Linked DNA regions of Homo sapiens: all the other regions are linked to region 2. Evidence: promoter capture Hi-C in 16 types of primary human blood cells and fetal thymus (Javierre and others, 2016). All regions are on one chromosome and are shown on one strand. Each heading gives the region's core, a stretch centred on a gene start or on the middle of the fragment in contact. The rest is flanking DNA. Distances are from core to core; before and after follow the strand shown.

Region 1 (2,833 bases), core at 249-2,748, 290 kb before region 2:
GGCTGGAGTGCAGCAGCATGGTCATGGCTCACTGCATCCTTGACCTCATGGGCTCGACAACGTCCCACCTCAGACCCCTGAGTAGCTGGGACTACAGGCATGCACCACCATGCCCAGCTAATTTTTAAATTTTTTTGTAGAGACAGGGTTTCCCTATGTTGCCCAGGCTGGTCTCAATTGATCCTCTCCGCTCAGCTTCCCAAAGTGCTGAGATTACAGGTGTGAGCCACTGTGACTGGCCCCAGATTTGCCCCTCTTAACCACAGTACTAAAAGCTTTTGTTGTTGTGATTGGGTCTCACTCTGTCGCCCAGGCTGGAATGCAGTGGTGTGATCATAGATCACCGCAGCCTCGAACTCCAGCCTCCAGGGATCCTCCTGTTTTAGCCTCCTGAATAGCTGAGACTACAGATGTGGGCCACCATGCTCAGCTAATTTATTTATTTATGTTTTTTGAGATGGAGTCTCGCTCTGTCAACCAGGCTGGAGTGCAGCAGCACAATCTCAGCTCACTGCAACTTCCACCCCCTGGGTTCAAATGATCCTCCCGCCTCAGCCTCCTAAGTAGCTGGGATTACAAGTGTGCACTACCACACCCAGCTGATTTTTGTATTTTTAGTAGAGTTGGGGTTTCACCATGTTGGCCAGGCTGGTCTCGAACTCCTGACGTCAAGTGATCTGCCCACCTTGGCCTCCCAAAGTGTTGGGATTACAAGTGTGAACCACAGTGCCCAGCCTGCTTGAACTCCTGACCTCAAGTGATCCACCCGCCTCAGCCTCCCAAAGTGCTGGGATTATAGGTGTGAGCAACGATGCCCAGCCTGCTCAGCCAATTTTTAAAAAATATTTTGCGGGGCGTGGTGGCTTACGCCTGTAATCCCAGCACTTTGGGAGGCTGAGGCAGGCGGATCACAAGGTCAAGAGATCGAGACCAGCTTGGCCAACATGGTGAAACCCTGTCTCTACTAAAAATACAAAAATTAGCTGGGCGTGGTAGCACGTGCCTGTAGTCCCAGCTACTCGGGAGGCTGAGGCAGGAGAATCACTTGAACGCGGGAGGCAGAGGTTGCAGTGAGCCGAGATTGCGCCACTGCACTCCAGCCTGGGTGACAAAGCGAGAGTCCATCTCAAAAAAAAAAAAAAAAAAAAAAATATATATATATATATATATATATTTTAGAAATAGGATCTTGCTATGTTGCCTCCGCCTCCTGGGCTCAAGTAATCCTCCTATCTCAGCCTCCCAAGTAGCTAGGATGATAGGTACAGTCTAACACACCTGGTTAAAAACTTTTATAATGAGAAAAGGAAGCCTGGGCAACATGGCAAAACTCCGTCTCTACAAAAAATACAAAATAATAATAATAATAAAAGGAAAAAAAACGAGAAAAAAAATTAGCTAGGCATGGTGGTGTACGCCTGTAGTCCCAGCTACTCAGGAGGCTGAGGTGGGAGGACTGAGCCCAGGTCGAGGCTACAGTGGGCCAACATCGCCCCCTACACTCCAGCCTGTGTGACAGAATGAGACCCTGCCTCAAAAAGAAAAAAGGACCTAGTAACGTTTGTGCCAGGTGTATTTTCTCTAACATACATAACAATTTTTTGAGATGGAATTTCGTTCTTGTTGCTCAAGCTGGAGTGCAATGGCATGATCATGGCTCACTGCAACCTCCACCTCCTGAGTTCCAGCAATTCTCCTACCTCAGCCTCCCAAGTAGCTGGGATTACAAACATGTGCCACCACATCTGGCTAATTTTTGTATTTTTAGTAGAGACAGGGTTTCACCGTATTGGTCAGGCTAATCTCGAACTCCTGACTTCATGTGATCCATCTGCCTCGGCCTCCCAAAGTGCTGGGATTACAGGCGTGAGCCACCACACCCAGCCACATAACAACTTTTTAAGGCCAGTAAAGTAAGGGAAATTTACCCATGTGCTTCCCCAGTTACTTCATGAACTCTCCAGTCAGTGATCCCACACTCAGGGAAGCAGTTAACCCCTACTTCCACACCCACACCCTTTTTTTGGGAATCTGATGTATCCCTCTCTAGAAATTTTCCTGAAATTATTTCTAGTCATCTCCTCAGTAAGAAAAATCATTTTTCTTTTTCTTTTCTTTTCTTTTTTTTTTTTTTTTTTTTTTTTGAGATGGAGTTTCACTCTTGTCGCCCACGCTGGAGTGCAATGGCGTGATCTCGGCTCATTGCAACCTCCTCCTACCAGGTTCAAGCGATTCTCCTGCCCTAGCCTGGGATTACAGGCACCCGCCACCATGCCCAGCTAATTTTTGTATTTTTAGTAGAGACAGAGTTTCACCACATTGGCCAGGCTGGTCTTGAACTCCTGACCTCAGGTTATCTGCCTGTCTCAGCCTCCCAAAGTGCTGGGATTACAGGCATGAGCCAACGAGCCCGGCCTCTTTTTTTTTTTTTCTTGCTTGAGAAAGAAAAATCATTTTCTACTTGTGCCTGACCCTTACTTATGAAATCAGGTTTTAGATGCAGAATAAAAAATTAAGGAATAAGGAGAAGGCAGAGGACCAAGATAATTTCGGAAGTGTTGGATGGTTCTAGAAACTGAAATAGCCTTGACAAAACCAAGACAAAAAATTAGCATAAATAAAGGTTTTATTGGTCAGTTTGGGTGAGTGACAAACTGACATGGCCCCAGTTCACTATTCCACATATCCAAGCCCCTGAGGTGGCAAGAGAAGCTAAGCTTATTAATGGTGGGCAATGGGTGAGAGGTGGAAAGGACTTGAAGGCCTCTGAGGGTTAACAAGGCTACCGGGACCGGAACCAACGTCCCAGGAATAAGTCCAGGATGGAAAAGGC
Region 2 (3,019 bases), core at 180-2,679:
CAGTCTCACTATGTTGCCCAAGCTGGTCTTGAACTCCTGGGCTTAAGGGATCCTCTCACGTTGGCCTCCCAAAGTGCTGGGATTACAAGTGTGAGCCACCGCAACAGGTCTTAGATAATATTTTCTTTCTTTCGTGTTTCGTATTTTTTTCCACCCCCAGCACACATATAGCAAGAATAATTTTTTTCTAAAGGCAGAGATAAACTTGTTTCTCTTTTACTCTCTTTCTTTCTTTCTTTTTTTTTTTTTTTTGAGACGGAGTCTGGCTCTGTCGCCCAAGCTGGAGTGCAGTGGCGCAATCTCGGCTCACTGCAAGCTCTGCCTCCCGGGTTCACGCCATTCTCCTGCCTCAGCCTCCCAAGTGGCTAGGACTACAGTCGCCTGCCACCACGCCCGGCTAATTTTGTGTGTGTGTGTGTATTTTTAGTAGAGATGGGGTTTCACCATGTTAGCCAGGATGGTCTCGATCTCCTGACCTCGTGATCCGCCCGCCTCGGCCTCCCAAAGTGCTGGGATTACAGGCGTGAGCCACCGCGCCCGGCAAACTTGTTTCTTTATACCCGTGCTGTTCATATTTCAGCTTCCTGGTTACCAAGGCTACACATTCATGGCCTATTGAGTGAGATTTCAGGAGTACTGCACCTTAAGTGGGCCATATTAAAAGATTCACGTAAAGAATGACATTTTTAGTTCAAATCTCTGTTTTCCTAAGCTATTTGGTCAGAGAAATCACACATGGGTCCCCATAAGAGAGATCGTTCCAACTGAAGCCCCAGGATGTGTCTAGGTAGGCTGTGTGTGTTGGGGTGGTGGGGCCGATTCTGTATAACTAATTTACGTTTTCACCCTGTTCCACCAGGGGGCAGACTGACTCAACAAATAACCTACTTCTGCGCATCCCGCTTTTTTCAAAGTGAATTGGGACCCATAGAACTAAGGGCTTGGACAACTAACAGTAAAATTCTAGGACTGCCTTTTACTCAGCCCCAGAAACCGATGATAACTCATCTTCTAGCTTCGTTGAATAGCATCTCCAAAACTCAGCCCCATTTTTTTTTTTCAATTTCTAGTGCTCTCCCTACCTTCACCCTTATTCCCAAAACTCTTGGTTCTCTTCCCCTAATCCCTCTAAAATTTCTCTTCTAAAATTTCTGGTCGTCGTGGTTAAACCTCTACTTCCCTTCACCCCAGCCTCTCTGGCCTCAGAATGGAAGAGTAAGGTCCTAAGAGGGGAGCTACAATTACCGAAAGGCTGTGGAAAATAGCGAGAGAGACAGGCCGGCCTAAGCTAGGAAGGGAAAACCGAGAGAACAGAGGCCGGGCTGGCAGCCTTGGCCTGCTCAAAAGGGTGGGCGGGCAGGGGGTGGAGCCCGGAGGGGTGCCGCCTCTCCTCTTTCCCGGAGCCTGGGCGGAGAGGGAGGAAAACTTCTTCCTGGCCTGGGCTCCGTGCCGCTCTGTTTGCCAACCGTCCAGTCCCGCCTACCAGTGCCGGGCGCTCCCCACCCCTCCCCCGGCTCCCCCGGTGTCCGCCATGGCCAAAGCCTACGACCACCTCTTCAAGTTGCTGCTGATCGGGGACTCGGGGGTGGGCAAGACTTGTCTGATCATTCGCTTTGCAGAGGACAACTTCAACAACACTTACATCTCCACCATCGGTGAGCCCGCTGGCCATGTCCCAGACCCCGACTCTCCTGTGACCTCCTTCTCCGGCTCCCGGATTACTAGTGACCCCACTTTTCAGTCCCCTTAGAGTAAGGCTCCTAAATTCTAGTCCCTCAACCCCTGGCTCTGACCCTTCCCCCGTGCATGTCTCTGTATAGTAACCAAACCTCTCACCTCTCTGAGGCCTTCAGGTAACTCTTCAACTGCTGCCAGCTCCTCATTTTCTTGGTACCATCGCCTTAGTCTCCCCAAATCCACAAGAACTCTTCTCTATTTTTCTCTGTTCCCCTCTTCCCCTACCCCCACCACCTAGAACTCTCTCGATCCTATCTCCATGTTTCCTGTATCCCTGTCCGCCACATCTTTTTCTCCCGATCCGATGCTAGCCTCTTTCTGTCTTGCTGAGCTTCAAACTCTCCCACTGTGTCCCCACCTCACCATCTACTTCCCAGGTTCCCTGCCCCAGTCTCCCTGCACCTCAGCTGAACAAGGGTTTGGGAAGGGTGGAACAAGGTGGCTGGGTGTGCTGGAGGGTGGCCCAAGGACTGTGATCATGAATATGCAGCCAGCTTGGTGAGGAACGTGGAAATGAGGGGACTTTTGGGGTCTCTGAGTCAGCCTGGTGACTCATCCTCCTCCCAGGGGCCCCCAGCAGGCTTGGGGGAGGTGCCCAAGTTTCTACTAAGAAGAACATTGTCTCCCCTCCTCCCTTCTCTTCTTTCTTCATCTCCTCTGGCTTGGGAAATAGACAGGAAGAGTCTCACGACAATTCTGGTTACAAAGGAAAAGGAAAAATGCCCCTCTTTCCTAATTGTCTCAAAAGTAATCCTGTTTAGCCTCAGACTTTCCTAGTGCCAAGTTTGGCCCACTAGTTAATTCACATAGACTGGCTTCAGCTACTTTTTTCCTTACTCTCTACTAGGAGGGTAGGTGGGATACCAAGAGTAGAGGGCTCTAAGAAAACAGAGAAGAGGAATGTGAAAGTAATATCTGGGGGGAGACAGAGACTGAATTCAGAGAGTTGTCAGCTGGTATAACTGAATGGACCCAAGAGGCAGCCTAAGGATTTTAAGCCTCCATGCAGAATTTTCGTCACCTTTTCCCTCCCAAAATCCATAAAATGTACGTAAAAATAGTATTCTTGCTATACAAATACAGCTTTGGGAAAATTCTCCTAGCTTGGCATTTCCAACAAGATTGTTCCCCAAGTGCCTCCCCTGCAGAATTTCTGGTGCCAGCACTGCTCCGTTCCTGTCCCTTCCATCACACAGTTTTACATGTGTGCATGCATGTCTCAACTTCAGTGCATACCTTCCACCCCTAGGAATTGATTTCAAGATCCGCACTGTGGATATAG
Region 3 (3,001 bases), core at 445-2,944, 270 kb before region 2:
CTTTGTGAGGTCACCTGTGACAGGAGAAGCTAAATGTACCTGCCTCTTTCACCCCAATACCAATACAGAATTACCTCTTCTGATTTCACATGATTCCAGGAGATCCTGTTCAAAGACTATTAAAGTTCAATTCCTTGAATTACATTTCTTAGTGGCTCCAATTATTGTTGCTCAGCATACACTTAGCACAGTTGCTGCAAGTCAAGGACTAATGTTGAATAACTGTGCAATGCTATGGCAGGAGGCTCTTGGAATAAGGCACCTGCACAATTTCTCTGCCCACTTGTGTTCTCTTTCATCTTCCCTCTTCTTCCCTCCCCTCTTCTCCTCCATGGGGAATACCCCATGCTGGACTTGAAGGACAACGATGGATCAGGGAAAACGGTAAGTCAATGAGGACAATGATAGGTCAGGTAAAAGAAGGAGTGGCAAGGCAGTGAGATTGCCACTGTGAGTAGTAGCATAAAGGGGCAGAGATGAGCAGAGAAGACCACCTCAACCACTGTATTTCCTGGAAAAAGCTAGCAAATGGCTTGAAACTAAGTCAAGATATCACTTTTTTTGGAGATGGGGTCTTGCTATGTTGCCCAGGCTGGTCTTGAACTCCTGGGCTCAAGCAATTCTCCCACCTTGGCCTCCCAAGTAGCTGAGACTACAAGTGTGTGCTACCATGCCTGGCTAAGATATCATCTAGAAATCACAGGGAGACAACACAAAGTGGGATGAATAGGAAAAGCCATGACATGCCCAACTTTAGCAGGATTTTGAATCTACCAATCCTGATTTATCACATCCCTTCTTGCTACCAATCAGGTGTCTGCCATCAATCCCAACACTATCTCCCTTTTTATTTATTTAGTCCCATCCCAATCCTACCAGAATAAGGGTTGCTGGCCAGGCTACCATCCCTCCCAGTCAGCGGAGTAGTGGGTGTGGGAAATGGGATGCTGTAGTAATCCTAGAAAAGAGGGGAAAAAAGAGCAGAGATTCAATGTCACTCATTCCCCAGCATGAGTACTATTTCCACGGAGGAAAAAACAGAAGAATGTGAGAGTTGTGCAATTTATCCAGTCACTAATTAAGCTGGCTAGAGTTAGCACAAACTCCACATTACTCTTGCATACACTGTCCCCCCTGCCTGGCCATGAGCACAGTCAGACAAGGTCTACGGGTATGCCCACTTGAGAATACATCAAAGTCCACGAGGACCAATATTTTCAACCCTCTAGGTGTCATCCCTATCAGTTTATACCAAGCTTATTCTACTGAGAAAACAGATCATTCGATAATTTAAAGTGTCTGGGACAAACAGAAAGCACCCTGAGTGCTCCAGAGTACTTTACTGGGCTATAGAATAGGTTAAAATGTATTTACTAAGATGCCACAACTCTGATTTAAAAAAAGAAAAAAAAAAGGCTGGGTGCGGCGGCTCATGCCTATAAGCTCAGCACTTAGGGAGGCAGAGGCGGGTGGATCATAAGGTCAGGAGTTCAAGACCAGCTTGGCCAAGATGGTGAAACCCCGCCTCTACTAAAAATACAAAAAAAATTAGCTGGGGGTGGTGGTGGGCACCTTTAATCCCAGCTACTCGGAAGGCTGAGGCAGACAATTGCTTTAACCCAGGCGGCGGAGGTTGCAATGAGCCAAGATCACACCACTGCACTCCAGCTTGAGCGACAGAGAAAGACTCTGTCTCAAAAAAAAAAGTTATCTTCTGTTGGAAACCCTCCCCCAAATCCCTATATTCTAATATGCCTTAAATCAGAGTGTATGGAGGGCTGGGATGGGAAAGAGCTATGTCTGTGACGGAGATAATTCTCCCAACACTAATTTTAAGACTACTTTCTTTTCCAAAGCTCTATCCCACATACTCACCAATGGAAATCTTGTCTGAAGCATCTGCAAGTCATCATAACCATATACTTGTGGCTGAAAGATACAGACATATAGCAATAACAGGAACTGGTCATGATGTTAGCAAAACAAGGAGCCAAGAGACAAGCTAATTCAACAGAACATTCATCCTCATTCTGGGTTAGAACAGGACACGGATTATTTCCTTCAATTTTATTTAAGGAAAAAGCAGTAAAGTACACAGAGATTAAATGATTCATGAAAGGTCTTGAAGCTTTCCTTGAGCTAAATACTACTGATTCTAGTAGGCTGGCTTCTTGATACCAATAGAGTAGACACAAAACATACACGAACAACCAGTTTTACTCTCTATTCTACAAGTCTCTGTCTCTTATACTCTTCAAAATCTGGCTTAAAAATAATCTCCTCTGGAAAGAATACTTCACTTTTCTCCAATGTCAGGGTTTTAAGGTAGTGACCACAAATTAAAAATGTGTAACTGTGTTATTTGGATGTGTCATCGGTATGAAATTTATCTAGACTTTGTCTATGAGGGCAGGAACAGGTATCTTCTAAAACGTTTCCATATATCCTTCATCTTAATAGGTACCAAATACTTGAAGGTCACAGAAGATACACTAGGGCAAAAAGCTACTAATGTCAGCCACTTATTCTCAAAGTCCCAGATTGAGTCAGGAAACTTTCCTCTAACCAGGCCAGACCAGCAAACACACTCAGAGTTAGGGATTTAATCAAATCAGAGAAAATAATTCTTGGGGCCAGGAGTAGTGGCTCAGGCCTATATATAACCCCAGTTATTTGAGAGGCTGAGGCAGGAGGACTGTCTGAACCTGGGATTTTGAGACCAGCCTAGGCAACATAGGAAGACCCTGTCTCTAAAAAAATTTTTAAAACTTAGCCAGGCATGGGGATGCACACCTGTAGTCCTAGCTACTTGGGGAGTCTGAGGTGAGAGGATTGCTTGAGCCCAGGAGTTCAAGGCTGCAGTGAGCTAGCTATGATCGTTCCACTGTACTCCAACCTGGGTAAAAGAGCAAGATCTGCCTCAAAAAATAAAATAATAGTCATAATTATCTAAGAAACCAAAAAGGATTCCAGATGAACATTCTGGCCTTTGGCTTCTGAG

The links. The method cuts DNA at HindIII sites, captures the fragments that hold promoters and counts their contacts. A CHiCAGO score of 5 or more calls a contact.
Region 1: a contact is called between a fragment that was not itself captured here and the fragment with the promoter of RAB13 in region 2, in 1 of 17 cell types (fetal thymus). The highest score is 5.0, in fetal thymus.
Region 3: a fragment that was not itself captured here is called in contact with the fragment with the promoter of RAB13 in region 2 in 3 of 17 cell types (naive CD8 T cells, naive CD4 T cells and naive B cells); the score reaches 6.3 in naive CD8 T cells.

The regions. Positions count from the first base shown.
Region 1 is chr1:154,275,651-154,278,483 of GRCh38, reverse strand. It overlaps HAX1 (HCLS1 associated protein X-1), which reads right to left. Exons shown (of 7, transcript NM_006118.4): 7 at 2,609-2,833. The coding sequence ends at 2,783. Among named protein-coding and RNA genes, the nearest start is that of HAX1, 4.4 kb to the right of the region's middle. The HindIII fragment of the contact is 2,442 bases long and covers 278-2,719 here.
Region 2 is chr1:153,984,749-153,987,767 of GRCh38, reverse strand. RAB13 (RAB13, member RAS oncogene family) reads left to right here and starts at 1,429. Exons shown (of 8, transcript NM_002870.5): 1 at 1,429-1,655; 2 at 2,987-3,019. The coding sequence starts at 1,532. RefSeq lists a silencer at 1,345-1,514 and enhancers at 1,326-1,827, 2,141-2,370. The HindIII fragment of the contact is 17,219 bases long and covers 1-3,019 here.
Region 3 is chr1:154,257,905-154,260,905 of GRCh38, reverse strand. It overlaps UBAP2L (ubiquitin associated protein 2 like), which reads right to left. Exons shown (of 27, transcript NM_014847.4): 21 at 1,876-1,929; 22 at 877-958; 23 at 1-14. SNORA58B (small nucleolar RNA, H/ACA box 58B) reads right to left here and starts at 1,179; the gene lies at 1,044-1,179. The HindIII fragment of the contact is 872 bases long and covers 1,259-2,130 here.